4 separate regions of the Homo sapiens genome follow, and regions 1, 3 and 4 are each linked to region 2. Evidence: promoter capture Hi-C in 16 types of primary human blood cells and fetal thymus (Javierre and others, 2016). All regions are on one chromosome and are shown on one strand. Each heading gives the region's core, a stretch centred on a gene start or on the middle of the fragment in contact. The rest is flanking DNA. Distances are from core to core; before and after follow the strand shown. Region 1 has its middle 10 kb from the start of TCEAL3. Region 2 holds the start of RAB9B (RAB9B, member RAS oncogene family). Region 3 overlaps TCEAL1 (transcription elongation factor A like 1). Region 4 has its middle 11 kb from the start of TMEM31.

Region 1 (6,684 bases), core at 1,511-4,010, 240 kb before region 2:
TTATTTCTTCAGACAGTTATCTTTTAGATCAATTAAGAATAAGAAAAATAAATATTTTTCTTTACTTTCATTTATTTCATTTCTAATCCTCTTTCATTCTTTATGTAGATCTCAGTTGCCTGAAGAAAATCTTTTAACATTTCTTAAAGTGCAGGTTTGCTGGTGCTGAATTCCATCAGTTTTTATTTGTCTGAGAAAGTACTTATTTCATTTCTCCTTCACTTTTGAAGGATAATTTTGCTGGATATAGAATTTTAGGCTGGACACAGTGGTGCACAACTGTAATCCCAGCACTGTGGGAGGCCAAGGCAGGTGGATCACTTAGCTCAGCAGTTTGAGACCAGCCTAGGCAAAATGTAGAAACTCTGTCTTTACAAAAAGATACAAAAATTAGCCTGGCATGGTGACATGTGCCTGTAGTCCCAGCTACTCAGGAGGCCGAGGTGGGAGGATAGCTTGAGCCCAGGAGGTCTAGGCTGCAGGGGGCCATGATTGCACCACCGCTCTCTAGCCCGAGCCAGGGTGAGACCCTGTCTCAAAAAAAAAAAAAAAAAAAAAAGAATTTTAGGTTGGTTGTTTTTTCTTTGAACAGTTTAAATATTTCACTTCACTGTCTTCTTGCTTGCATGGTTTCTGGTGACAATTCCACTGCAGTTCTTATCCTTGTTCTTCCACAGGTAAGGTGTTTTTTTCCCCTCTGGTTTCTTTCATTATTTCCTGCTGGGGATAGGCCCCCAAATCTGGCCATAAACTGGCCATAAACAAAATCTCTGCAAGACTGTGACATGTTCATGATGGCCATGATGCCCACGCTGAAGGTTGTGGGTTTACCGGAATGAGGGCAAGGAACACCTAGCCCACCCAGGGCGGAAAACCGCTTAAAGGCGTTCCTAAGCCACAAACAATAGCATGAGCAATCTGTGCCTTAAGGATATGTTCCTGCTGCAGAGAACTAGCCAGAGCCCATCCCTTTGTTTCTGCCCATCCCTTTGTTTCCCGTAAGGAATACTTTTAGTAAATCTATAATCTATAGAACAATGCTTATCACTGGCTTGCTGTCAGTAAATATGTGGGTAAATCTCTGTTTGGAGCTCTCAGCTCTGAAGGCTGTGAGAACCCTGATTTCCCACTCCACATGCCATATTTCTGTGTGTGTGTCTTTAATTCCTCTAGCGCCACTGGGCTAGGGTCTCCATGACTGAGCTGGTCTCGGCAATTTCCTCTTTGTTTTTGGTTTTATGCAGTTTGAATATTATATGCCTAGGTGTAGTGGTGTTTTCTTTTGGTATTTATTCTGCCCATTGTCCACTGAACTTCTTGGATGTATTGTTTGGTGTCTATTAATTTTGGAAAGTTATCTGCCATTATTACTTCAAATATTTCTTCTGCTTCATTCTCTATTCCTTCTTCTGGTATTCCAATTTAGCACATGTTACTTGTGTTGAAATTGTCCCATAGTTCTTGGATATTCTCTTCTGTTTTATTTTTTAGTCTTTTTTTTCTATTTGCATTTCAGTTTGAGAGGTTTCTACTGACATATCTTTAGCTCATTGATCTTTTTCCTCAGCTGTGTCCAGTCCATTGATGAACCTATCAAAGGCATTCCTTGTTTCTGTTAGTTTTCTTTTTAATTTCTAGTATTTTCTTTTGAGTCTTTATTGGCATTTCCTTCTCTCTAGCTTCATTATCCATCTATTCTGGCATGTTGTCTACTTTTTCCATTAGTGCCCTTAATGTATTGATCATAGTTATTTTATTATTATTTTTATTTTTTTAGAGACAAGATATTGCTCTGCTGCCCAGACTGGCATGTGGTGGCATGATCACAGCTCACTGTAGCCTCAAACTCCTGGGCTCAAGCAATCCTTCTGCCTCAGCGTCCCAAGTAGCTAGGACTACAGGCAGGCACCACCATGCCCAGCTAATTTTTTTTTTTTTTTAAGAGACGAAGTCTTGCTCTGTTGCCCAGACTGGTCTTGAACTCCTGGCCTCAACAATCCTCCTACCTTGGCCTTCCAAAGTGCTAGAATTACAGGCATGAGCCACCACACCCATTCTGATCATAGTTATTTTAAATTCCTTGTCTTACAATTTCAAAAACTGTATCATATCTGAGTCTGGTTCTGAAGCTTGCTTTGTTTCTTCAGAACTTTTTTTCCCCTTGCTTTTGCTGTCTTGTAATTTTTTGTTAAAAACTAGACATGCTATATCAGGTATATAGGAACTGAGGTAAATAAGGTAAATAAGCCTCTAGTGTAAGGAGCTATGTTAATCTGGCTAGGAGTTGTGATTTGATTAATGTTTGCTATTGCTATAGGTGCTAGAGGCATCAAATTTCTCAGTGTTCCTGTTTTTGTCTCCCCTCTTGACTTTGGGCTTCCCAAACAGAAACACTCTGGTTTTTGCAGCTCTTTCCATTGTAATTTACTATTATACTAGAGCCCTGATGGTGTAGTGATAAGACATTGGGGATAGGGAGTATTCTATAATCTTCCAATTAAATCTCCATCTTTTAGTGGACCTATGTCTCTGGCCTGTGACCTTCGCAAGTGTTTCTTTTTGTATAGCGTCGATCCTCCCCTTAGATGACACAAGAAGTGTAGAGGGTGATGGAGCTAGGTAATCACTGTTACCCCACAGCTCTGAGACAGAGCTCTGGTAAAATCTTTCCCCCTAGAGAGTAGACATTTGTTATGAAAAAAGCTCTGAGATGTAGAGAGCAGGGCCTTCTTAAATTACACAGGCCAGTCATTGAGTTTACTGAGAATAGAGTCCACAGACTTAGGGTCCAGGACCAGCTGTCTTTTTATCTTCAAAATGGAGCACAAAGTAGCTGACTCCTGCCCATCACCACACATACAACTCACAGGATATGAGAGATGCAGTCTAGCAGAGTATCTTAAGATCATGGACTATTGGGGTCATGAGTTCCAGTTACTACTGGAACTTACTATCAGCTCTTTGATCTTGGAAACATTTTTTGACCACTCCAAATATCAATTATCCCATATTTACAGTAGATTTGATGACTCTCCTTTCACTTGTGACCCCCACTAGTTATATTGGGCCAAAAAGTATGCCCCTCATAGAGCCTGAATTCTCTAACACCAAATCAAATTCTCTTAGTACAAAATGCCAGGAGGAATGATGTGAGAAAAGGGCAAAAATATTCCCAAATATGGAAGTTTTCTAGTTTTCTTTTTGTTATTAATTATTGATTTCTGTATAGGTGTATTGAGGGTCAGAGAACATGTGTATAACTGCAATCCTTTTGTATTTATTGTGACATCTTTATGACCTAATAATTAATTTTTGTAAAAATGTTTCATGCCTACATTTACTGGGTTCAGAGTTCTGTATACGTCCTTTAGAAAAGTTTGTCAAATTGTTCCAAGCTTCTTTATCATTTCTGAATTTTTATCTGCTTGCTCTATCAGTTACTGATAACAATTTAAACTTAACATATTAAGTTTCTCATTATGGTTGTGAATTTGTTTCTCCTGTGGTTCTGCCATTTTAACATTTGATCATGAAAGATAGCACACATATAGAGTCACACACATTCACAAGATGTAGAGCTAAATTATTTATTACAAAATGAAAAACTGGGTAATCACCACTCATGTCAAGAAGTAGAATACTGTTAGCAGTCCAGAAATGCCATTGATGTCCCCTTCAGTCATCCCCCTTCCTTACCACTAGAGCTAATAATAATCCTGAAATTTATGGTAACCCTTTCCTTGTTTTTCTTTATATTTTATATCCTAAGCAGTACAGTTTAGGATATTGCCTGTTTTGTGAACTGTATATAAATGGAACTATACAGCATGTATTTTTTATGGCTGGCATATTTTATTCAATACTATATACAATGAAACTGAATGTTTATGTCCCTCCCCCAAAAAATTATATGTTGAAATCCAAACTTCCAAGGTGATAGTATTAGGAGTTGGGGCCACTGGGAGGGATTAGTGCCCTTATGAAAGAGACCCCAGAGAGCTCCCTCACTCTTCTACCATGTGAGGTTACAGTGAAAAACAGCCATCTGTGAGGAAGAGGGCCCTCACCAGACACTGAATCTATCACCTTGATCCTGTACTTCCCAGCCTCCAGAACTATGAGAAATAAATTTGCTTTTTATAAGCCATAGTATTTTGTTATAGCAGCCTGAGCTAAAATGTTATGTTTATGGTATGAATCCATGTTTCTATGTTTAGATTTAATTAATTTATTTGCATTGATGTGTAGTATACAATTATTGAACATATCACAGTTTATGCTATTGTTTTGTTCTTTATATAAATTTAGGTTATTTCCAGCTTTTCAATATTATATATAATGCGGCTATGAAAATTCTTATATATACCTCTCAGTATACACGTACACAAATTTCTGTTGGGTAGCTATCTATGAGGAGAATTGCATGTTCAACTGTAATATATGATGCCAAACTTCCAAATTGGTTGTATCAGTTTACACTTCCATCAGTAGTGATAACAGTTCTTGGTGCTGTACATCACCACCATTGCTTGTTATTATCTGCCTTTTTCATTTCACTGATAACTAATGAAGCTGAGCACACTTTCATTTTTTTGGACAATTTAGATATCCTCTTTTACGAAGTGGTTGTATTATTCCCATTCTACTATTGGCTTATGTGTCTTTTTCACATTAATTTGTAGGATTTTAAAAATATATTCTGCATCTGAGCTCTTTGTCAGTGAAATGTATTGCAAATAGCTCACCAACTTTGTGGCATGTCTTTTTACTCTCTTTGTGGTGTCATTTGACTAATGGAATGTCTTAATTTCAATGGAATGATAGTTATGATAAGTACTCTGTGTCCAGTTTAAAAAGTCTGTGCCTACATCATAGTTATAAAGATATTCTATATTATTTTCTAGAAGACAGATGTATAATTGACCACAAATTAGTTTTTGTGTATTGCATTAGGGTTTTTCAGAGAAACAGAACCAATCCATAGCAAATATATATAGCACATATATATATATATATATACACACACACATATATATATATATACATATACGCACACACATATATATACACAGAGAGAGAGAGAGAGAGAGAGAGAGAGAGATTACAAGGAATTGGCTCATGTGATTATGGAGGCTAAGAAGTCCCAAGATCTATAGTCAGCAAGTTCGAGACAGGCTCAAGACCCAAGGACAGTTGATTTTTCTGTTCAAGTTTGAAGTCAAGAAAAGACCAATGTCCCAGTTCAAACAATCAGACAGAAGTTCCCTCTTACTCAGCCTTTGTATTCTATTGAGGTCTTCAATTGGTTGGATGAGGCCCACCTATGTTAGGAAGGGCAATTTGTTTTATTCTGTCTACCAATTTAAATGTTAATCTCATCCAGAAATACCCCAGGATAACATTTGAACAAATGTCTGGGCATTCTGTGGCCCAGTTAAGTTAACACAAAAAATTAACCCATCACATGTTTAATGTGAGGTAGGGGTCAAGATTTACATTTTCCATATTATATATTGCAGTTCATTCAGTGTCATTTGATAAAAGTTATCCTTTCCTCCAGTGCTTAACAATGCACGTTTATTGTAAATCAGCAATCCATAATGCATGGGTCTGTTTCTGGGATCTCTCTTTGATTCCATTGGTCTCTTTGGCTATCCTTGGATTAGTATCACACTAAACTACTATGACTTTATAACGTGTCAATATTTAGATTTTATAATAAGTTTTGGTATTTAGTAGACAGAGCAAAGTCCTCCAGATTGGGATTTTTTCAATAATGTGTAAGTTATTCTTGACTTTTTGTGTTTGTATATAATCTTTAGAATCAGCTTGTCAAGTGCCATGAAAGGAAGGAAGAAGGGAAGGAGAGAATGAAGGAGGAGTTTTGTTTAGGATTGCATTGTAATTATAGGTCAGTTAGAAGAGAATTGACATCTTCCTAACACTGAGTCTTCCAACCCATGACCATGGTATATATTCCATTTATTTATTTAAAGATCTCAGTAACATTCATCATGTATTGGATTTAAAACTTCCATTTTGTAACTGTTTTTTTGCTGATTAAGAAATGCAACTGAATTTTGTATATTGTCATATCCAGAACACTTGATGAACTCATTTATTCATTCCAAAATTTTTATATATGGACTCTTTTAGATTTCCTAAATTACAGTCATGTTGTCTGTGCATGACAGTTTCATTTCTTCCTTTCCAATTCTCTACCTTTTCTTTCTTCTTCCCTTCCTTCCTTCCTTTTGCCTTCCTGCCTTCATCTTTTTATTTTCACTGGCCTGGGACCTACAGTCAAATTTTAAAAAGATCTGGGGCTTCCTAATCTCAGCTTCAGCTTCAAAGAGAAAGCTTTCTATACTCATCATTATATTTTATGTTTGCTATATGTTTTTTATAAACATATTCTAACAAATCAAGGAAGTCCCTTTCTGTCTCTTCCCATTTAATAAGGGCTTCTATTATAAATACTTTTTTCTTCATCTATTAAAATAATCATATGATTGTTAGACTTTATTCTCTTAATGTGGTAAATTACATTAATTGATTTTCAAATATTATACCAATCTTTCATTTCTGGAATACCTTAACTTGTATGTAGTATATTATTATTCTCATATATGGTCAGGTTCTTTCTTCTTTAAATTTTTTTTCAGTTATGTCAATGAGTTACAT
Region 2 (6,882 bases), core at 728-3,227:
AGAACTAGCACAGTGTAAAAGCAAATGAAATCATTTTTTCCTCCCCCAGAATATGCCGGATTTAATCCAAACCTTTAAACAAGGTAACATTAAGCAGGCAAATGAATTCTTTGATAACACTAAATACGTAAATAGGAAAGTCAAATGACGTATGCATCCCTTATGGGTCCTCTGTCGGGCGAGCATTTGGACCAAAACGCTTATTCTGATTTTGATCCCATTCAGAGAAAGATCTGACTCTAACTGAGTAAAATATTCGAGAGACGCAATTCCCCTTTCCTACCCCCACAAACTCATTAATGAGCATGCTCTAAGGATAGTTTACTAACTTTTTTTTTTCCCATCAGGGTCTCAGTCTTGGAGAGTAAGGTGAATTAGGAATTTCCATAACCAATACTCCCCAGCTCTTTGTTCTTTAACACACTTGAAACCTTCTGAATCTGCAGTACCCACAAAGCCTTATTCAAATTATTGTATTTAGTTGGGAATGCTTAGAGGTGGGAGTGGAGGTGGGGGAGGAGGCAGTACAATGAAGAAAAAGAAGTTGAACCTTTGAAAATAGTACATTTTAGTATGATGATGGAGAGAAGAGAGGCAGAAAAGCAAATTCGCATCAGTTCAGTTGCCATGGAGTGGAATGATGCTCAAAATCAGTAGTGCAGATTGCTCGGAGGCAAGTCTTGAAAGGGATGTGTACTGCAGGGATCGATAGGGGAAGAGCAACTGGGGAGGGCTAGGCACTGGATGAGAGTGGCACTGTTGGAAGTCTGTACAGGGGAGGAGCCATGGTTGGACCTGTGGGGAAAGCCCATCTTGTGGCGACACACTGGTAAGGGCTACTCAACTCACTGTTGAATGCTGGCACAATAATTGGAAATATTGCACTGAAGAATTGGGCGCGGCTATATTTATGTAAAATTCAACACGGATGAGAAATGATTGAATGTTTGAGTGTGTTTCCAATACAACCCAATACTTGGCGTTGGTGCTGGTGGTGGGTGCTTCGTAGCGCGGAAACCCTCTGACGCACTGGATTCATTTTGCAGAGCTAACAAGTTATCAGCTACATCCATGCCGACTCCAAATGCCACAGCTGTCATGCCACTGAAACGCTATTCCTACATTCATGCCCACATTTATATCCTATATGCAACTCAAAGGGTCCAATGTGGAGTCCCACATCTAACCTTTCACTGCTCACAACGACAGCTCTAGGGCTATAAGCCCAAAGGCACACTAGATAGCAATCTGGCATCGTCCCCAGGACACTTCTTCCTCAGTAGACTGCCCAGGGACAGATAGGTAGATAAGGTTTGGATGACATCAAGCGAGCTGAACACAAGGAAAAAAAGCTTCCTTGGGAGACAAGAATGCTGGCATCTCTACGACAGGGGCACTGTTAGCATTACGGACCTAGAAAGTGAGATGTCACACATAGTCCCAACTACCTCCGACCCAGGTCCTCTCACCTCACCCCCAGCTCTTAGAGCTAGTCGGCTGTGGCGCATGCGCACTGAGCCACACCCGCTCCCCACGGAGCCCTGCGCCTCTCTGCTCGGCTCTGGCAGCAGCTCGGGATTACTCAGCAACGCCCCCCTGCACTGTCACCTGCCCCCGACTCCGACCTCGGGAGCGGCTCAGTCCCTTTTCTCAAGCTACGAGTGGTCCTGGGGATCAACTAGACTTTCCTTTCTCCCTCTTCTCACAGGCCCCCCACCTCCCGGCCTTCCGGGTCCTCCAGCCCCTAGCCCCTGTTCCTGCCCACGCACAGGCACCTTACCCAACACAATGGGAAGGAAACAGGAGAGGGCCGCGGGTGCCAGGCAGGTCAGCTCTGCGTGCCGGGAATCCGGCTCCTTAGAGTCACCGTCACTGCTCCTGCTGCCTCCTCGTCCTCAATGGGGCAGCAAGTGCGGCTTGGACCTCGGTGGCCTGACAGCTGCCGCTCGCGCCCGCCGCTGCCGCCGCGCAGCGTCTCGAGCCCGCGCCCGCGCCCGCCAGGGGAGGGGGCGGGGCCCGCGCCGCCTCCTCGTGCCCCTTTCTCGGCGGTGGGGACCCGGTGTAGCCGCCTCCCGCCCTCCATGTGGCAAGCGCTCCCTGGCTCGCCCACTCTTCTTTCATGCTCATCGTCCAACCCTGGTCTCCCTTGTCCTCCTTCTCCTCCCCTAGCCGATTAGTAGGCACAGCGGCAATAGACCGTCAAATATTGCTCTTCCACTTAGCTCCTCTGCAGCCTGGGCCTAAGCCCTCAAGCAGGGCTAGCCACTGCCCCACTTCCTGCAATTATCCTCTGATCTACCTCATTTATCCTAGCTCAAAATCCTTTAATTTTGCCAAGAGGGTAGTACATACACCCTCTTGTTTCAAATAACTCAGGAAAACACATGATCACAACACATTGCTAGGCCCTCTAACTGGCTACAGCTTATGAAATTTTCAGGCAATTAAAAAAAATGTCCACATCTGTAGCGCAGGCATAGAGGACACACTGCCCTTTACTCTTACCAGATACAGTTCTAGAGGGCCACACAGGGGGCATTACTTGAATTTCCCGGAATTGCTGCTGGGGCAGAATTTGATGTTTTAATTGTGCCTAGCCGACCAGCTAGTCTCTTTTTGTTGTTTTCTGTAGCCCTCTGGTACTTCCAACTAGTTTGTGATTTTCCCCCTGGAATTGAAGAAGGACAAAGCTCCTGAGGTCATTTAGCCTGCACTCCACCTCTCTGTCAGGCAGCTCCATCTCTGAAGCTTCCCCATTGCCCGAAACCCTGTGACCTTGTGGCACAGGCCCTCACTCATCTCATGACCCCGTCCAGGCCCTCACACATACCCGCTACTTCCATCTAGGCCACTCTTCCTCTGTCTCTTGACAAGGCAATCGTGCAATCAATCTCCGCAGGCCCCAGCTTAAATGTCACTTCTCAGGATAACCTTTCTCGATAATCTCAGAATAGAGATGGTGCCCCAGTTTATACTCTTGTAGCCTCCTGTAACTTGCTGTATTTTTCCTTCATAACACTTACCCATTTTTGGTGGTACATTTAAGTGTATGATTATTTGGTTGACAGCTGTCTTCCCTACTAAACTATAGTGGGGAAGGACTATGAGGTCAAGGACAACGTTTGTGTTCACCACCGTATGCACAGAGCCTAGGGCAATGCTTGCTGCATAGGACATGCTCAGAAAATATTTGCTGAATATGAATGAATGCTGTATCACTAATAGTTGTTATATTTAAATAAAATAAATTGATGTAACTGAATCTCATGTGCTCCTATTTAAACCAACCCCGTTCCCCACACATACACTCTAAAACACTCTTCTGATGAAGACGAGATTCACACAATCCTCTAAATCAAATTTTCCGCATACATTTTAGTCTATTAAAAAACTATTGAGCATGGGCCCCAACATATGTATAAGGATTTATAGATTATATACATGTACTACTGTACATGTATACATTACACATTACTTTAAACATACATTTTAATGAGTAAACATTAAAATACTCCACAGAAATTTTAAAAGAATGAGAAAAATAAATATATTGATGTTCCAATGTTTTCTTTTTGCACCTCAATAAATAGTTTTGTGAAATGCTTTAAATAACAGTCCTTCATATTAGAGTAACTCGTCTTTAGGTGTAACAATCTAGACTACTTTTTCATTTTCTCATAGATGCCATTTTCCAACAGTTTAAAAATCTCTGAGAAACCCCCAAACCAACTGGCAAGTTTTAAGGATCTTTTAGTTTCTAAGCTACCTCGTTCTGTAGTCAGGATCTCACAACTGCTGAAAGCACCACACGTTTAGTGAATGTTGGAACACCTAAAGGTAAGAAAAATCCTTTGTTAGACCAAAGATTCCTACATGTAAATCCTATATTAAAAGAGTCTCTAGAGGCCACTTAAAAAGCAGCTACTATTATCTTTCTAGAATGGAAGCAACATGACTAACACTAGTTGTGAGGGATCAGCAAAAATGGACAGCACGAAGATTCAAAGTAACAGCTGTGGATGGTTTTGTGGCTCTCAGATGGGACTATTCCCAATGGTCAATCATTGAGATCTGTCAAATAGTGTCCTTCACACACAATAAAAATTCTATTTTTATAACACAGTTACACACACACACACACACACACAATAGAATCATAGTGTAGTCGGTAGATAGAAGGCCAAACCAAGATTGCGTTTGGATACCAGAGATAGGGTTACCTTCAGAGTCACACACACACACACACACACACACACACATACGCTCTTCAACATTCAATGAACAAGATCTCCCAAAGTCTCATCCTGATCAGTTTGAAATACATTGACCTGAGCTTCAGGAAGACATAATTGTAATGTGATTAATTTAAAAGAACAGCCTGGTCCAGCAGTCACAAGTTGTTATGTACAAGAGGGTTCCGTGAAGCATTCAAATAAGTGTATAAACACTGCATACTATTTCCCTTCCAGAAGAGTCACGTTGCATATTAAAACATTAACGTCTCTTGGAGTCCTGAAGTAAAGAAATCTGTTGTGTTGTTTTTCAATCTTACATTTCCAAAACTTTTGTGAACATGAATTTCTTTTGTTTATGGAACATCTATTAGCAGGACTAGAACAGCTCAGGACCCAATTTAGCAACTACTGTCCTAATCATTAATATTGAACATATTCATAGGCCAACGTATTTGTCATCTTTGTCCTAGAATATTTATGTGGCAACTATACACGTTATATTTTCCAGATAGTCCTGATTTCAAATACTTTGTCCTATTGTCCTAATTTTTACAACAATACTCATGAGATCATCTAATGTTTTATTCAGAAATTATGGCAGTCATAGATATGTAAATAGGAAATTAGTAAGAATTTGTGAACTATTTACCTATCATTGTCCAAGAGCAAGTCACAGTTTCTGGTGATACAATATTTTTTTAAAAAATCATTTGACACAGGGATAATATTATGGAATAGGAATACTTTGCCAGATTTTTCATAGCCTGAAGGAAAGATCTCTTAAGATTATCCAATTATGGAAGGCATCAGTATGAACTCAGTTTAGTCATTTAAAAAAAATTTTTAAGCTCTGTCCACTAAAAATACTTAGAAACAATGAAAATCTCAGTGTCCAAATTCACCTATAGTGCCCATAGGATGGTTCTAAATGCTATTTCCCAATAAAAGGACCCAGGATTACTTAAATAAATGGCTGACTTCAGATATGTGGCAAGAAATATCCAAGATGAACATAAAATATCTTGTCACACCAGATAGCAAGGAAGCTAAAAACATTATTAGAGTTGAGTCAAAAGGACTTGAAGAGGCTGTCATCAGTCAAACACGGGGCAATTTGAGCATCAGTAAAGATAATAACTACAATGAATTGAAATATATCAAATATGTTTAAATATACAAATTCATAAAAACACTTAAAAACATAATTGCTCAATTTGGCCAAACCTAGAAAGCTAGCTCATTATTTTAAAACTGGTAAATAAAGAGAGTGACTCAAACATTTAACCTGCTTTTTTTAAATACAAATTATTCCTTGGTGTAACAAAGGAGTTGGCGAGGAAAGTGTTTTAAAAAGATTCCCAGCTAATAAATTATGAAGGAATGATAAAATTACAACCTTTAATGAATTAGTGGATCTAGGTAATAATAGTTAATGTCTTCTAACATTACAAAAGGAGTGTTAACCATATATCATATGCCTCTTGATGGAAAAACACAGCAGCACATAGAAAGTATTTTTTGTCAAAAAATGCAATTTGAACCCTATCAAGCTCCTAGATATAACTATGAATTTTTAGAAAAATACAAGGAAAAATATGTTAACATTGTAGGGATGTAAGCAACAACATCCAGACTTAGGTTTAGAGTGCAGGTGTGTGTGTGTGTGGTTTAGAGTGCAGGTGTGTGTGTGTGTGTCTGTGTGTTGAGGGGGGAGAAACTGCAGAAAAAAACGTGGTTTCTTCAACAAATAAATTTTAAGAAAGAATACAAAAATGAAAGTTAAAAAGAATGCATTTACAATGACATCAAAGAGAATGAAATATTTAGAAGTAAATTTTAAAAAAGAAGTGCAAAAAAAAGAAGTGCAAAAGTAACACTCTTAAAAACACAAAACTTTGTTGAAAGAAATTAAAAAAGATCTAAATAAACGGAAAGATATCATATGTTTGTGGATTGAAAGACAATATTTATAAGGTGGAAATACTCTTCAAATTGATCTACAGATTCAACGCAATTCCTGTCAGAACCCCAGCTGGCTTCTTTGTAGAAATTTACAAGCTGATCCTAATATTCTTATGGAAACTCAAGGAACCCAGAATAGCCAACACAATCCCGCAAGAGAACTCAGCCTTTTCAATTTCAAAACTTACTACAAAACTACAGTTACCAAAATAGTGTGGTACTGGCATAAGGCTAACATGTAGATCAGTAAAATATAATTGAGAATCCAGAAATAAACACACGTGTCTATGGTCAATTGATTTTCAACAAAGCTGCCAAGGCCATTTAATGGGGAAAGAATAGATTTTTTCAACAAAGTGTGCTGGAATAACAGGATAGCCACATGCAGAAGAATGAAGTGGGACCCTCACCTCACAGCACATACAAAATTAACTAAAAATGGATTATACTATAAAATTGTTAGAAGAAAGCAGTAGTAAGTCTGGTCTTGAGTTAGGCAATGGATTCTTAGATATGACACCAAAAGCAAGGGCAACAAAAGAAAAAATAAATAAATTGGACTTCATGAAAATGAGAAATGTTTGTGCTTCAAAGAACACTATCAGAAATGTAAAAAGACAACTCACAGAATAAGGGAAAATATTTGCAAATAATATACTTGATAAGGAAGTTATCTAGAACATAT
Region 3 (6,572 bases), core at 1-2,500, 200 kb before region 2:
AAAATTCCCAACATGGACAAACCACGCAAAGAAAATGAAGAAGAGCCGCAGAGCGCGCCCAAGACCGATGAGGAGAGGCCTCCGGTGGAGCACTCTCCCGAAAAGCAGTCCCCCGAGGAGCAGTCTTCGGAGGAGCAGTCCTCGGAGGAGGAGTTCTTTCCTGAGGAGCTCTTGCCTGAGCTCCTGCCTGAGATGCTCCTCTCGGAGGAGCGCCCTCCGCAGGAGGGTCTTTCCAGGAAGGACCTGTTTGAGGGGCGCCCTCCCATGGAGCAGCCTCCTTGTGGAGTAGGAAAACATAAGCTTGAAGAAGGAAGCTTTAAAGAAAGGTTGGCTCGTTCTCGCCCGCAATTTAGAGGGGACATACATGGCAGAAATTTAAGCAATGAGGAGATGATACAGGCAGCAGATGAGCTAGAAGAGATGAAAAGAGTAAGAAACAAACTGATGATAATGCACTGGAAGGCAAAACGGAGCCGTCCTTATCCTATTTAATGTGTTCGGCCTTTAATTCTGTTTTGCCTGCTAATAGTATTGCCATTGCCACCTGGACTTTCTGTTTGCATTTTCTTAATGCCTTTTCCCATATTCTGAATTTTAACTTTTTGTGAGGCTTTATTTTAGATGTTTAGCATGTAACTCGCTTAAAGTTGAGGTTTCCCCCTAAAATCTACAAGTTTCCCTCTTTCAGTCATGAGCCCTACACATTTGCATGAAAGATGTACATTATATATTGTGAAACGAAAAAAGCAATTTTCAAATGGTATATATTGTATCCCATTTTTGTAAAAAAAATGTATATTTATATATTAATATGCAAAGAAAAAGCTAAAAGTATAGACTTCAAAGGCATAACAGTGGTTGTGTGGTAAGATAATAGGTGATTTTTTAAATTTTTGTTTTATCTGAATTTCTCATTTTTTCAGGACAAACGTTTTACTTGTGTTGCAAAAATATATAATGAAAAAATCACACAATTTTGAAGAAAACTGTCAATCAGCTTATAACGACAATGTGGCACTTAATAAATACTTGTCAGAACTTTAAAAAAAGTGAATCCTATGTTTTTTTCTGAATCTCTTAGGCACAAATATTAGCCAGATATGGATTATATTTAATAGTCATTTTGTTCTCATTTAAATAGGAATAATACTTGCTTTACAGTGCTACTGTGGGACCAGATGAGAAAAAGGTTGTGTGAGCTATGTTCGGGGTCTTTATTCCACCTGCACAGGCAGGACCCCAACCCCTATAGATTCCCTGCAGACATAGGGAAGGTACCCAAAGGAGATCTCACTTGTGCTCACAAACAATTCCGGTGAGATTCCAAGTGAGTGCCACATTCTATTCATGTCCTGCTGTACTCTCAGATACCTACCGTATCTGCTAGGCACAGCTGCTCCTTCTCCTGGGTCCTGATCCTTCCACTGGCTCTCATCCCTGCTGACGTGCTGGACTGCTTAAGGTACAAAGCCTCACTGATTGCTCTGGAGTCCCTGGTGGGCCCAAGCTGAATTGTGTCTCCTGCAGATATATGAATGCCCTTCTTCCAGCTTTAATATTGCACTTAGCTAGGAGGCTACCATCTCAATGCTGCTTAGACCTCAATGTCTTTAAAAAATGCTTAGTAAGGCCAGGCGCGGTGGCTCACGCCTGTAATCTAGCATTTTGGGAGGCCGAGGCAGGCAGATCACGAGGTCAGGAGATCGAGACCATCCTGGGGAACACGGTGAGACCCCATCCCTACTAAAAATACAAAAAAAAAATTAACCGGGTGTGGTGGCGGGCGCCTGTAGTCCCAGCCACTCGGGAGGCTGAGGCAGGAGAATGGCTTGAACCCGGGGGACAGAGCTTGCAGTGAGCCAAGATCGCGCCACTGCATTCCAGCCTGGGAGACAGCAAGACTCCGTCTCAAAAAAAAAAAAAATGCTTAGTAAAATAGTTCTTCCATTTTTTTTTTTTTTCCATTTAGGACCTTCCTTTTCTCCACTGGACTCAAACATGATTCCACCTTTTCTCCACCTGACTCAAACATGATTCCACTAGGTCCTGGGCTAGGAGACAAAATTATTGAGCCAGACACCATGCTGTGTACTCAGAATTGGAACTTCCCTCCCAAATATCCAAGGATAACTATCATTTTAATTGTCTAACTTGCCTTAAGATGAGTTCTCTCTCAGGGGCTTCTGGCAAGCTTGCCTTGCCAATTCAGCTGACTTGCTCAACTTGTATAAATTAAAGAGGAAGATAATGCTTAGGCTCAAACTAAGACATTCCCCCTTCTACACTGCTCCATATCAGCAAGACACATGCAAAACTACTTTCTACAACATTAAAGTACTATATATGTATATGTACATAAACATATATATTAGATATGATTTCTCTACTAAGCTACCTTTATAAATCCTAAGATTTTGTTTTATTGATTCTGTTAGTGCTAGAGATACAGAGTGGTTAATAATGATTAAAAATCATGACCCAGTCATGAATTCTGAGATTCTCTTTGATTGACTATATAAGCTTTACTGTGTTGACTTCTCTAGAGCTATGATTTGCAATTCCAAAAGGAACGTGGTGAAGGAGGGATTGTTAACTGAAATTCAACATTAAAATTATTTAAATATTTTATATATCAGTGTTTCCCTTATAAAAAATGCAGAAACCCGTTTTCTACGCCAGACCCAGTAAATCTGCTTTTTCATAAATTAGCACACTAAAAGTTGGACAGCCACTGGCATATATGGTATACTTCTGATTTTATTGAGAATAAACTATGATGTAAATGGAAGAAAATACAGATAATTGTGTCAGAATTAAAAGGGTGAAAGCCTCATCCAAGCATATTTTTAAGTAAGCAACTAAAGATAGTCATACAAATTTTATAACATAAAATTTAGATTTCTTACAGCAAAGCAAGACCTTACACAAAATTAAAACCTAAGAGACAACTTAATAGAAATGTATTTTCCATGACTGATGTTATATAATACCTTACATTCCATACTTTCAATATGAGTAAAATGCATCAGAAGTAAATTCAAAGTTCTCCTTTAGTAATGATCTCAAAAAAACGGTTGAGCCAGCCCTGTACCCTTGGCTTTCTTTTGTTTTTATATTTTTACCATACAATGCCATTTGGAGGAGGTCTTCATGTCTCCAGAACACTCTTCAAGGCCAATGACAGCCTGATGGGTGCTGGTAAAACTGGAATTCTGGCTGGAGTGAGATCAGGTTCCAGGCTCACTGGAATTAGTTTTATAAGAGAGGATAAATCCATCCCCCTAACGCTAAGAGTGGTGGTGCTTAGGCAGGAGGTGGAAGGGCTCACTCAGGCCACATTCCCCTCTGGGGTGGGTCTGACTTTTGTTTCTCTGCTCCAGCCTACAGCAGGCACAGGGCCCTCTTAGGCTAATGGCCAAGCTGCCCTGCACAGACACACCTGGAGGAGGAGAACTGACTGCCCTATTGCAGGTCAGAGCACTTTGCCTTTCCCTCCTTTTCCCTCTCTCTTTTAGGGAACATTTTGTAGGGGAGGAGATAAAGCCCCAAAGTGTCCTGACAGGAAACATTCATTGGGATAGTCTTTGAGCAAGCAGATGTCTGTACAGATCTGACCAGGTAACTTGGGGTTGAAGCAGAAGGGGCTGACCCGTCTCTCAGAGTCCAGTGAAGTAGCCCCCAAGAAGACTGGGGCAAACATAGAATTAAGACAGCACACAAAACCTCACCCATCCCTCTCCCACCCACCTTGCTCAGAGTCCCAGAAGGGCCTTGATGTGCCCTGGCCTGTTTGGTTGGTTCTGCAAAGACTTTAGCTCTGTGTCTGCCTGGTGCACTATATTTGATGTCTGAGTCAGCACAGACCCTGAACTAGAGGAGACCCCAGATAAAGGGAACTTGCAAAGACATGTGGTCCTACAACTCAGGAGAAAAGTGGTGTTGCCTCCTATCTGAAAACCCTCATGCACTGCAGGCCCAGCTCACGACTTGGGAGCCAGGACAGTCAAGCTGTGAATTGGTGTGAAGATGCTTTTTAAGGCATTGGTGGTGGAGGGTCAGCAGCATCCAGAGCCCCTGGGCCTCTGCTATGATTGAACGTGTTTCCCACAATTCATATGCTGGAAACTTAATCCTCAATGCAACAGGGGATGTGGGATATGGGGCTTAATGGGAGGTTTTTAGGTCATGAGGGCTGTACTCTCATGAATGGATTAATGCCATCATAAAAAGGGCTTGCAGGAGTGGGTTCTCTCCCATTCTTCTGCCTCATGAAAACACAGAGTTCCTCTTTCTTGCCTTCTGCCTTCCTGCGTGTAAGAATGCAATAGGAAGGCCCATCCCAGATGCCAGTGCCTTGATCTTGGACTTCCCAGCCTCCAAAACTGTAAGATAATAAGTTTCTATTCTTTATCAATTATCCTAGAGCTGGGCACGGTGGCTCATGCCTGTAATCCCAACACTTTAGGAGGCCAAGGCAGAAGGATCGCTTGAGCCCAGGAGTTCAATACCAGCCTAGGCAACATAGTGAGATGCCATCTCTACAAAAAATAGGAAAAAAAAAAGCTGGGCATGGTGGAGTGTGCCTGTAGTCCCACTCACTTGGGAGGCTGAAGTGGGAAGATTGCTTGAGCCCAGGAAGTCGAGGCTGCAGTGAGCCATGACGGTGCCACTGTACTCCAGCCTGAGCAACAGAGACCCTGTCTCAAAAAAAAAAAAAAAAAAAAAAAGTTATCCAGTCTCAGGTATTCTGTTATAACAGCAGAAAATGGACTAAGACAGCCTCTCCCCACCTTCCTGTCCACACAGAAGGCTGGTATCTCTATCACATGTCCAAACAGCAACTTGCCTGGCCAACTCCGGAGCAGAAAGCATTGAGGGTCCAGGACCATGGAGAGAGAGCCCTCTGCTAACCAGGGTCCCCCTGCTCTTAGGAAACAATGCATACGACTGCAAACTCCCAGGAGTGGTGAAGCAGCATAGATGGGATCAGGCTCAGGGTCCCTAGAAAAGGACCAGAGACAACTCCTTCCCCCATTACGAAACACTAATCTAAACAAATAATTATTTTTACAAATGAAGGATAATATTTTGCAGATAAATAGGAGGCAAATCCTGTGTTCTAACTCAGATTTGTTTGCATCAAATTCTGTGTTCTTCCCACTCTACCACACGGCCACCAATTTAGATAGTAGCTTTTCAGGGCTTAGGGCATCATTGATTTAGACTTGCTGAGTATGGTATTCTTGTTGGTTTGTGGATTTGAGTGAGTTTTCTCATTTTTATCTCAATCCAGGTAGAAATGTCTAGTAGGCAGTTAGATATGTGTTTGAAGTTTGGAAAAGAGATTAGAATGGAAATATCAATTTTGGCTTATGATACCAGGAACATAGCAAGTGGCCCAGGAGTATTTGTTGAATTAAATGAATGAATGAAGAATGCAATTGTATACTCTTCTATCCTTTTCTATGAATATGTATTTTTCAAACAGAAGTGGGATTCTACTGAACACACTGGTTCATATCCTGTGTGTAAAAAAAATAAACTTTTTCTTTAAACTTTCTTTTTACCAAGATAATACCTGTTTCAGGAGAATGTTTACATATTGAGGTAAGTGCCACCCGGTGATCAGAGTCAGGATTGTGGGTCAAACATGGCTAACAAAGGAGAGCAGGGAGGAGAGAAACTATGAGAGGAGAGCTGGTGGAGAGGCTTGATATTTGGGAAGGGAATGTCTCAACCCTGACTCACACTGGAACCACACAAGTATCAGGCTCTTCTTGGGGATTGAGGTGGCCCAAGAAGCAACATATAGTTAGGTGGTTTTTCCTTGTCTCAAGTCAAGATAAGCGTGTGCATCTATGTGTGCATATGTATGTGTGTTTAAGCTGAATTGTCTTATACTATTTTCACTTTTTCTCTGATTGTAGAAGTTATATATTTCTACTAGAAAATATATGGAAATGCAGAAAAGTGTAAGAAGAAGATGCCTACAGTTCCCAATATTGAGGAGCATGTACTTACATTGTGTGTGTATATCTCCTTTTATGTATTCTATCCATTTACTTTGTTATAAAGTAAACATATATATTATATTACATATATAATACATTTAAATGCCTTTATGTATTCATTTTTATATATGTAATTATATCTTACAGAGCATATGTTTTCTTTTCTTTTTTTTTTTTTTTTTTTTTTTTTTGCTCTGTCACCCAGGCTGGAGTACAGTGGCACGATCTCGGCTCACTGCGACCTCCACCTCCTGGGTGCAAGCGATTCTCCTGCCTCAGCCTCCCAAGTAGCTGGGACTACAGAGGCATGCCACCATGCCTGGCTAATTTTCTTTTTCTTTTGTATTTTTAGTAGAGATGGGGTTTCACTGTGTTAGCCAGGATGGTCTTGATCTCCTGACCTCGTTTTCCACCCACCTTGGCCTCCCAAAGTGTTGGGATTACAGGCGTGAGCCACTGCGCCCAGCCTATTTTCTTTATTCTCTTACTTTTATTTACATATGTGCCATGACATTCATCTGTATGAGTATTCCATCAACCACACTTCTTGATGGTGATGTC
Region 4 (6,269 bases), core at 1,783-4,282, 130 kb before region 2:
GAGCTTGGCATGACCATTGCACACCTGTAATATCATTGTAACTGTTGCCAAGATTTTTGCTATATCCCGTTTCTGTGGGGACTGTGAATATCTAATATGAGTGTCGTCAACAGATGAACAGGGCAGAGGTTGGGAACTGAATGTTCATCACAGAAACAGTTTTTTCCCTTGCAGATTACCTTTGGCCTTGAATCTGTTGCTGTCTACAAGTCAGAGCCATCCCAGAAGTGAGCCTCTGGAGCTAATAAATGATGACACACTCTAGTCTTTCCCTTCCTGTTCTATTCTTTCCTTTCACAGCTTCAACTAAGTTGAGAAAAAAGGGGGACTACACTGAGGGCCTGAGCTTTGCCCAATCAAGCCCTCAGTATCCCCATGTTGTCTGATGAGCAGACTAGACTAAATGATCTGGGAAGGCCCTTCTAGCTCTGCTGTGCCAGGTTCTAAAATTCTTTTTTTTTTTTTTTTTTTTTTGAGACGGAGTCTCGCTCTGTCACCCAGGCTGGAGTGCAGTGGCGTGATCTTGGCTCACTGCAAGCTCCGCCTCCCAGGTTCATGTCATTCTCCTGCCTCAGCCTCCCAAGTACCTGGGACTACAGGCGCCCGCCACCACGCCCAGCTAATTTTTTGTATTTTTAGTGGAGAAGGGGTTTCACCGTGTTAGCCAGGATGGTCTCGATCTCCTGACCTCGTGATCCACCTGCCTCGGCCTTCCAAAGTGCTGGGATTACAGGCGTGAGCCACTGTGCTCAGCCGCCAGTTTCTAAAATTCTAAGACATTGTTATCTGTTGAGCCAGTTGTCTTATGGGAAATCCCATGAGACATTTGTTTTCTAAAAGAGCCAACTGTTTATTTCTCTGCATGGGCATATTGGTGAGAGTTAAATGCAGTCAGGATAGCAAATGTGTTGCTGTGGCCAATTGTCTTAAGCATTCTTGCCCTTCTGATGGTCAGGGCTGTCTTTGTAACAATGATTCTCATTGTCTGAAGTAGTTAAGGATTAGCATTAAACTGAGGACTGATAAGACTGAGGTCATTAGCCAGGCATTGTTAGTAAGTAAAAGGGGAGGTAGGGTGACAAGTATTCAGGACTTCTGTAGGTTGATAACTTGAAGAGGGGCTTAGAGTCAGAAAGATGCCCAATTGTTAGATTCCTTTGTCATCATAGCCCTTGACTTTAGCCTATTCTCAAAAAATGATCTTTCTATAATATTGCCAAATAATACAGCTGAAACATCCCTTGACCTGTTAAATGGCTTAAATTGAAAGTTATAGATGATGCAGTTTTGATTTTCAAATTTTTTAAAGAAGCAGTAAACTCTTCTCATCCTCTCTCCTCACTCCAAAGAAAATATTATGGTAAAGCAAGTATATAAACTGAGAGTGGAGTTATGCAGATTGAAACGTCTGTATATATGTGTGGGGGATGGGTATGGCTGCCTGTCCTTCCTTCCCTTCCCATGAAACCCTAGGACTCCTTGAAAATGACTTTGAAAATCCTTTGCCAAATAGATAAATTATTGTACTGTACTGAGAAATAGGTAACTTTGGGTAAGTCCCTTAAGGTCTCTCAGCCTCATTTCCTCACCTGTTACATGGATACCTGGTTATCTTACCTCAAGTTTGCTTTGAGGATGACATGGCACTTAAGAGCTTTGAAAAGGGGGGAAAAAAAAACCACAAAGATACTTGTTACCTTGATAGTGTAGTACTTCATGACACGACCCTTGCAAAGAAAGTATAGTTAGTGAGAACTAGCACAGCAATTGGGTGGTTAAAAATTTTTTTGAACTACAGTACTCATGACTTTTAAAAACTTATATAGTAAACACTAATTCATTTCTTGCTATGAGCTTGGTATGAGGAATACAAAGATAAATACCTTATAATCCCTGACCTCAAACTCATTTATCTGTGAGGGAAATAGACAAAAGAACAGTATCTAATCTTACAAGTACAAATATAGAGCTATGTACAGGGCATTATCAGATAACCTAAATCTATCTGGATGTTAGGGTCATAGCAGTTTGAGAATGCCTCACAGAAAACATGATATCTGGCGAGAGCCTTGACAGATGAATAGAATACCTCAGGTGGTCAAGGGAAGGCGTTGAAAGGCTAAGGAACAGCATGTGCAAAGGCACAGAGCATTAGACAGGATCCGGCTTGCTGGGTTCAGGGATCTGTGGGTGGATCAGCAAGGCCAAATTAAGGATGCATTTAGTGGAGTGAGGGGAGTGATGAGAGAAGAGGCTGGAGTCACTGGCAGGAGCCAGAGAAGAAAATTTCTGGTAGGCCAACTTAAGCCACTTGGGCTTTTTCCTGAGGCAATAGGGAGCCGTTGAAGGATTCAAAGCAAGGAAGTGTCATAAATAGACAGTTTTAGAAAGGCCAAATTGGCAATAGTGTGGAGGATAGGAAACCACACTGGAGTCAAAGATTGAACCAAGATGAAGTCAGGGAGTATAGAGAAGGAGGCAGGAGTTTCAGAAATATTTGAACGGTAAACACAGCAGGACTTGGTAATTGATTTTATCTGAGGGCTGTGGAAGAACTAGTTTTCAAGGACGACTCCCAAGTTTCTGGCTTAGATGATTCATCAAGATTAGGAAAGTTGAAGGACAGAGTGGCAGAGAAAGTTTGAAGGAGGTTGTGAGTTTTTTGGCTTTTTTTTTTTTTTTTTTTTTTGAGACGAAGTTGCGATCTTGTTCCCCAGGCTGGAGTATGATGGAGCGATCTCCGCTCACTGCAACCTCCGCCTCCCGGGTTCAAGTGATTCTCCTGCCTCAGCCCCCTGAGTAGCTGTTACAGGCGCCTGCCACCACGCCTGGCTAATTTTTGTATTTTAAGTAGAGACGGGGTTTTACCATGTTGGCCGGGCTGGTCTAGAACTCCTGACCTCAGGTGATCCGCCTACCTCGGCCTCCCAAAGTGCTGGGATTACAGGCGTGAGCCACCACGCCCGGCCATTTTTTGGCTCTTGAGGTACCCATGGGATGAAGTCAGAAATGTAAGAATCATCAGCACATAGGTTATCACAACCATGGAAACAGTCAAGAACAGCCAAGCAGTAGGCGTGTGGTGAGGAGAAGTGAAATCAGGAGATTAAATCCTGGAGAATAAGAACACATAAGAAGGTATGGCAGAGGGTCAAGAGAAGAAATTAGAGAATGAAGTCCATGAGAGAAGAGAATCTCAAAGAAGGTGTGACAACTCTGACAAATGTTACAGAGAAATCATGGAAGGTTAGGGCAGAAAAGTGTTGACTTGACATGGCGATTAAGAAGGTAGTATGAGGAGGCCGGGCACGGTGGCTCACGCTTGTAATCCCAGTACTTTGGGAGGCCAAGGCGGATGGATCACAAGGTCAGGAGATCGAGACCATCCAGGCTAATACGGTGAAACCCGTCTCTACTAAAAAACCCCGTCTCTACTAAAAAATACAAAACATTAGCCAGGTGTGGTGGTGGGCGCCTGTAGTCCCAGCTACTCAGGAGGCTGAGGCAGGAGAATGGCGTGAACCCAGGAGGTGGAGCTTGCAGTGAGCCGAGACCGTGCCACTGCACTCCAGCCTGGGCAACAGAGCAAGACTCCGTCTCAAAAAAAAAAAAAAAGAAGGTAGTATGAGGAATATGGGAAAAGCATTTGAGGGGTGGGTAGGGGGAAGAAGGCGGAAGATAGATTACAGTGTGTTAAGAAGTAAATGGTAGAAGTGACAATGTGGAAATGGCTAGTAAGGACATTTCTTTTAAGAAACTTGGGCCGGGTGTGGTGGCTCACACTTGTAATCCCAGCACTTTGGGAGGCAGAGGCAGGTAGATCACTTGAGGTCAGGAGTTCAAGACCAGCCTGATCAACATGGCAAAACCCCATTTCTACTAAAAATACAAAAATTAGCCGGGCATGGTGGCACACACCTGTAGTCCCAGCTACTTGGGAGGCTGAGGCAGGAGAATCTCTTGAACCTGGGAGGCACAGGCTGCAGTGAGCTGAGATCACGCCACTGCATTCCAGCCTGGGCAACAGAGAGACTCCATCTCAAAAAAAAAAAAAAAAAAAAAAACCAACAACAAAGAAAAAAGAAACTTGGTGGTGAATAAAAAGAGGGCAATAGGTCAATTAGGTCAATGGAGAGAAATTCAAGGTCCAATGGAGAGTAGTTTGTCTCCTTATTTTTTCTTTTAGATGGAAGACTCACTTCTTCCTCTTTTTCTTTTTCTCCTCCCCCTCTCCCTCCTCCTTTTCCTTCTTCCTTTTCTTCCCCGCACCTGAAAAAGCTGAGGCTAAGAGAGATTAAGCCATTTTCCATGGTTGTATAGTTTTTAAACACGTTTTATGCCAGCAGGAAGAACCTAGTGTCAGTTGAGAAACAAAATATAAAGAGAAGTGATTTTAGCTTGACCCTTTTTGTGAGCGTGGGCTTAGCAAGTGAGACTCACAGCATGGAATTTGAAGAGAGATTATGATGATGTAGTCTGGTCATGTAAAAGCTAACTTTAATTGAGCACTTACTATTTGCCAAGCACTGACTTAAGCACTTTACCAGCCGGGCGCGGTGGCTCACGCCTGTAATCCCAGCACTTTGGGAGGCCGAGGAGGTGGATCACGAGGTCAGGAGATCGAGACCATCCTGGCTAACACGGTGAAAGCCCGTCTTTACTAAAAATACAAAAAAAATAGCTGGGCGTGGTGGCAGGTGCCTGTAGTCCCAGCTACTCAGGAGGCTGAGGCAGGAGAATGGCGCGAACCCTGGAGGCGGAGCTTGTAGTGAGCCGAGATCGCGCCACTGCACTCCAGCCTGGGCGACAGAGCGAGACTCCTTCTCAAAAAAACAAAACAAAACAAAACAAACAAACAAAAAAGCACTTTACCTGCATTATCTCTTGCTTTCTCTCTTTTTTTTTTTTTTTTTTTTTTTTTGAGTCAGGGTCTTGCTCTGTCACTCAGGCTAGAGTACAGTGGTGCAATCACAGCTCACTGTAACCTCAAACTCCTGGGCTCAAGCAATCCTCCCACCTCAGCCTCCCAAGTAGCTAGGACTACAGATGTGCACCACCATGCCCAGCTAATTTTTACATTTTTTTTGTAGAGACAGGATCTCTCTATGTTCCCCAGGCTGGTATTGAACTCCTAGCCTCAAGCAATTCTCCTGCATCAGTCTCTCAAAGTGCTGGGATTACAGGCGTGAGCCACTGTGCCCAGACTGCATTATCTCATTTAATTCCCACAACAACCCTATGAGGTAGGTATTGTTATTGCTTTCATTTAACAGATGCAAAAGCTGAAGCACAGAAAAATTTGATGATTTACTCAAGGCCACATAGTTACTGCATGCTGGATATTTCAGAGCCTTCAAATGTCCCTTTAGAGGAGGAAACTGAGACTGAGGGAGGTGAAGTCATTTGTCCAAGAACCCATATCTAGTAAGTGCTGGAATTGTAATTCAAACCCAGGCTCTGTCTGGTACCAAAGCCACCAGTAATCACTACACTGTCATGAATAGAAGCTATTAAAATAAAGAATATGTGTGCATTTTTCTCGATCCAGCTCTGTAAGGCTAAATGTTCCTTGAATTTAGATGATGGTAAGAATTTTCCCTATTCCATAAAATTGATAGTGAGAGCATGTACTTCCTTGGTAATGCCCCATACGGTATAGTGCAACCAGGATATTTGTAGAAAGCCTCATGGTGAAAGCAGAGACTGAGAAAAACAGAGCTACACAGGCAGAGTGACAATAGCTGAGTTCTCATGTGACTTCTTCAGGTGGCTCCCTGACATAAGATTTACTTCATCATCCTTCCATGAAGAGAATGCTTTGTGAGGGAGAAAGCCCCTGGCTCAGATGCCCTTCTAGGATTTCCTAACAAGCTGTTCTGATACCACCAGCCCAAGTTCATAGACTGTACGCATTATCCTAGTTGTGAAGTCTCATCATGTAGCGAAGAGTGTGAGCTGAGAAGACCAGCTTAATTGCTATCCCCTCAGAGATGACTGGCTTTCCAGTGAGAACAATGTGTGGAGCATGCAGAGGCCAAAATCCCTGCTACTGTACTCACTAGTCACTGCCAGGGCTTTTATCGGGTGATTGGTTTTTGAAATATAGCTTGATACTAGTCTTCAGATTTGGAATATTACTAATGTTTAATCAGAACATTATCATTTTTTTTCAGAGCAGGAGTGGAAGTTTATTAAAAAGCTTTAAAGCAGGAAATAAAGTGCACTTTGAAGAGATCCAAGTGGGCGACTTGAAGAACAAGTGCCCCGTT

What was found. Contacts are between HindIII fragments. The CHiCAGO score rates a contact against its expected background, and 5 or more counts as called.
Region 1: a contact is called between a fragment that was not itself captured here and the fragment with the promoter of RAB9B in region 2, in 1 of 17 cell types (total B cells). The highest score is 7.2, in total B cells.
Region 3: a contact is called between a fragment that was not itself captured here and the fragment with the promoter of RAB9B in region 2, in 1 of 17 cell types (total B cells). The highest score is 5.1, in total B cells.
Region 4: a fragment that was not itself captured here is called in contact with the fragment with the promoter of RAB9B in region 2 in 2 of 17 cell types (total B cells and naive B cells); the score reaches 6.6 in total B cells.

The regions. Positions count from the first base shown.
Region 1 is chrX:103,594,449-103,601,132 of GRCh38, forward strand. No RefSeq gene overlaps it. Among named protein-coding and RNA genes, the nearest start is that of TCEAL3, 10 kb to the right of the region's middle. The HindIII fragment of the contact is 1,266 bases long and covers 2,128-3,393 here.
Region 2 is chrX:103,830,280-103,837,161 of GRCh38, forward strand. RAB9B (RAB9B, member RAS oncogene family) reads right to left here and starts at 1,978. Exons shown (of 3, transcript NM_016370.4): 1 at 1,781-1,978. The HindIII fragment of the contact is 1,396 bases long and covers 1,351-2,746 here.
Region 3 is chrX:103,629,905-103,636,476 of GRCh38, forward strand. TCEAL1 (transcription elongation factor A like 1) reads left to right here. Exons shown (of 3, transcript NM_004780.3): 3 at 1-1,049. The coding sequence starts at 13. The coding sequence ends at 492. Among named protein-coding and RNA genes, the nearest start is that of TCEAL1, 4.2 kb to the left of the region's middle. RefSeq lists an enhancer at 1-25. The HindIII fragment of the contact is 1,877 bases long and covers 313-2,189 here.
Region 4 is chrX:103,696,916-103,703,184 of GRCh38, forward strand. No RefSeq gene overlaps it. Among named protein-coding and RNA genes, the nearest start is that of TMEM31, 11 kb to the right of the region's middle. RefSeq lists enhancers at 123-873, 874-1,624. The HindIII fragment of the contact is 6,329 bases long and covers 1-6,197 here.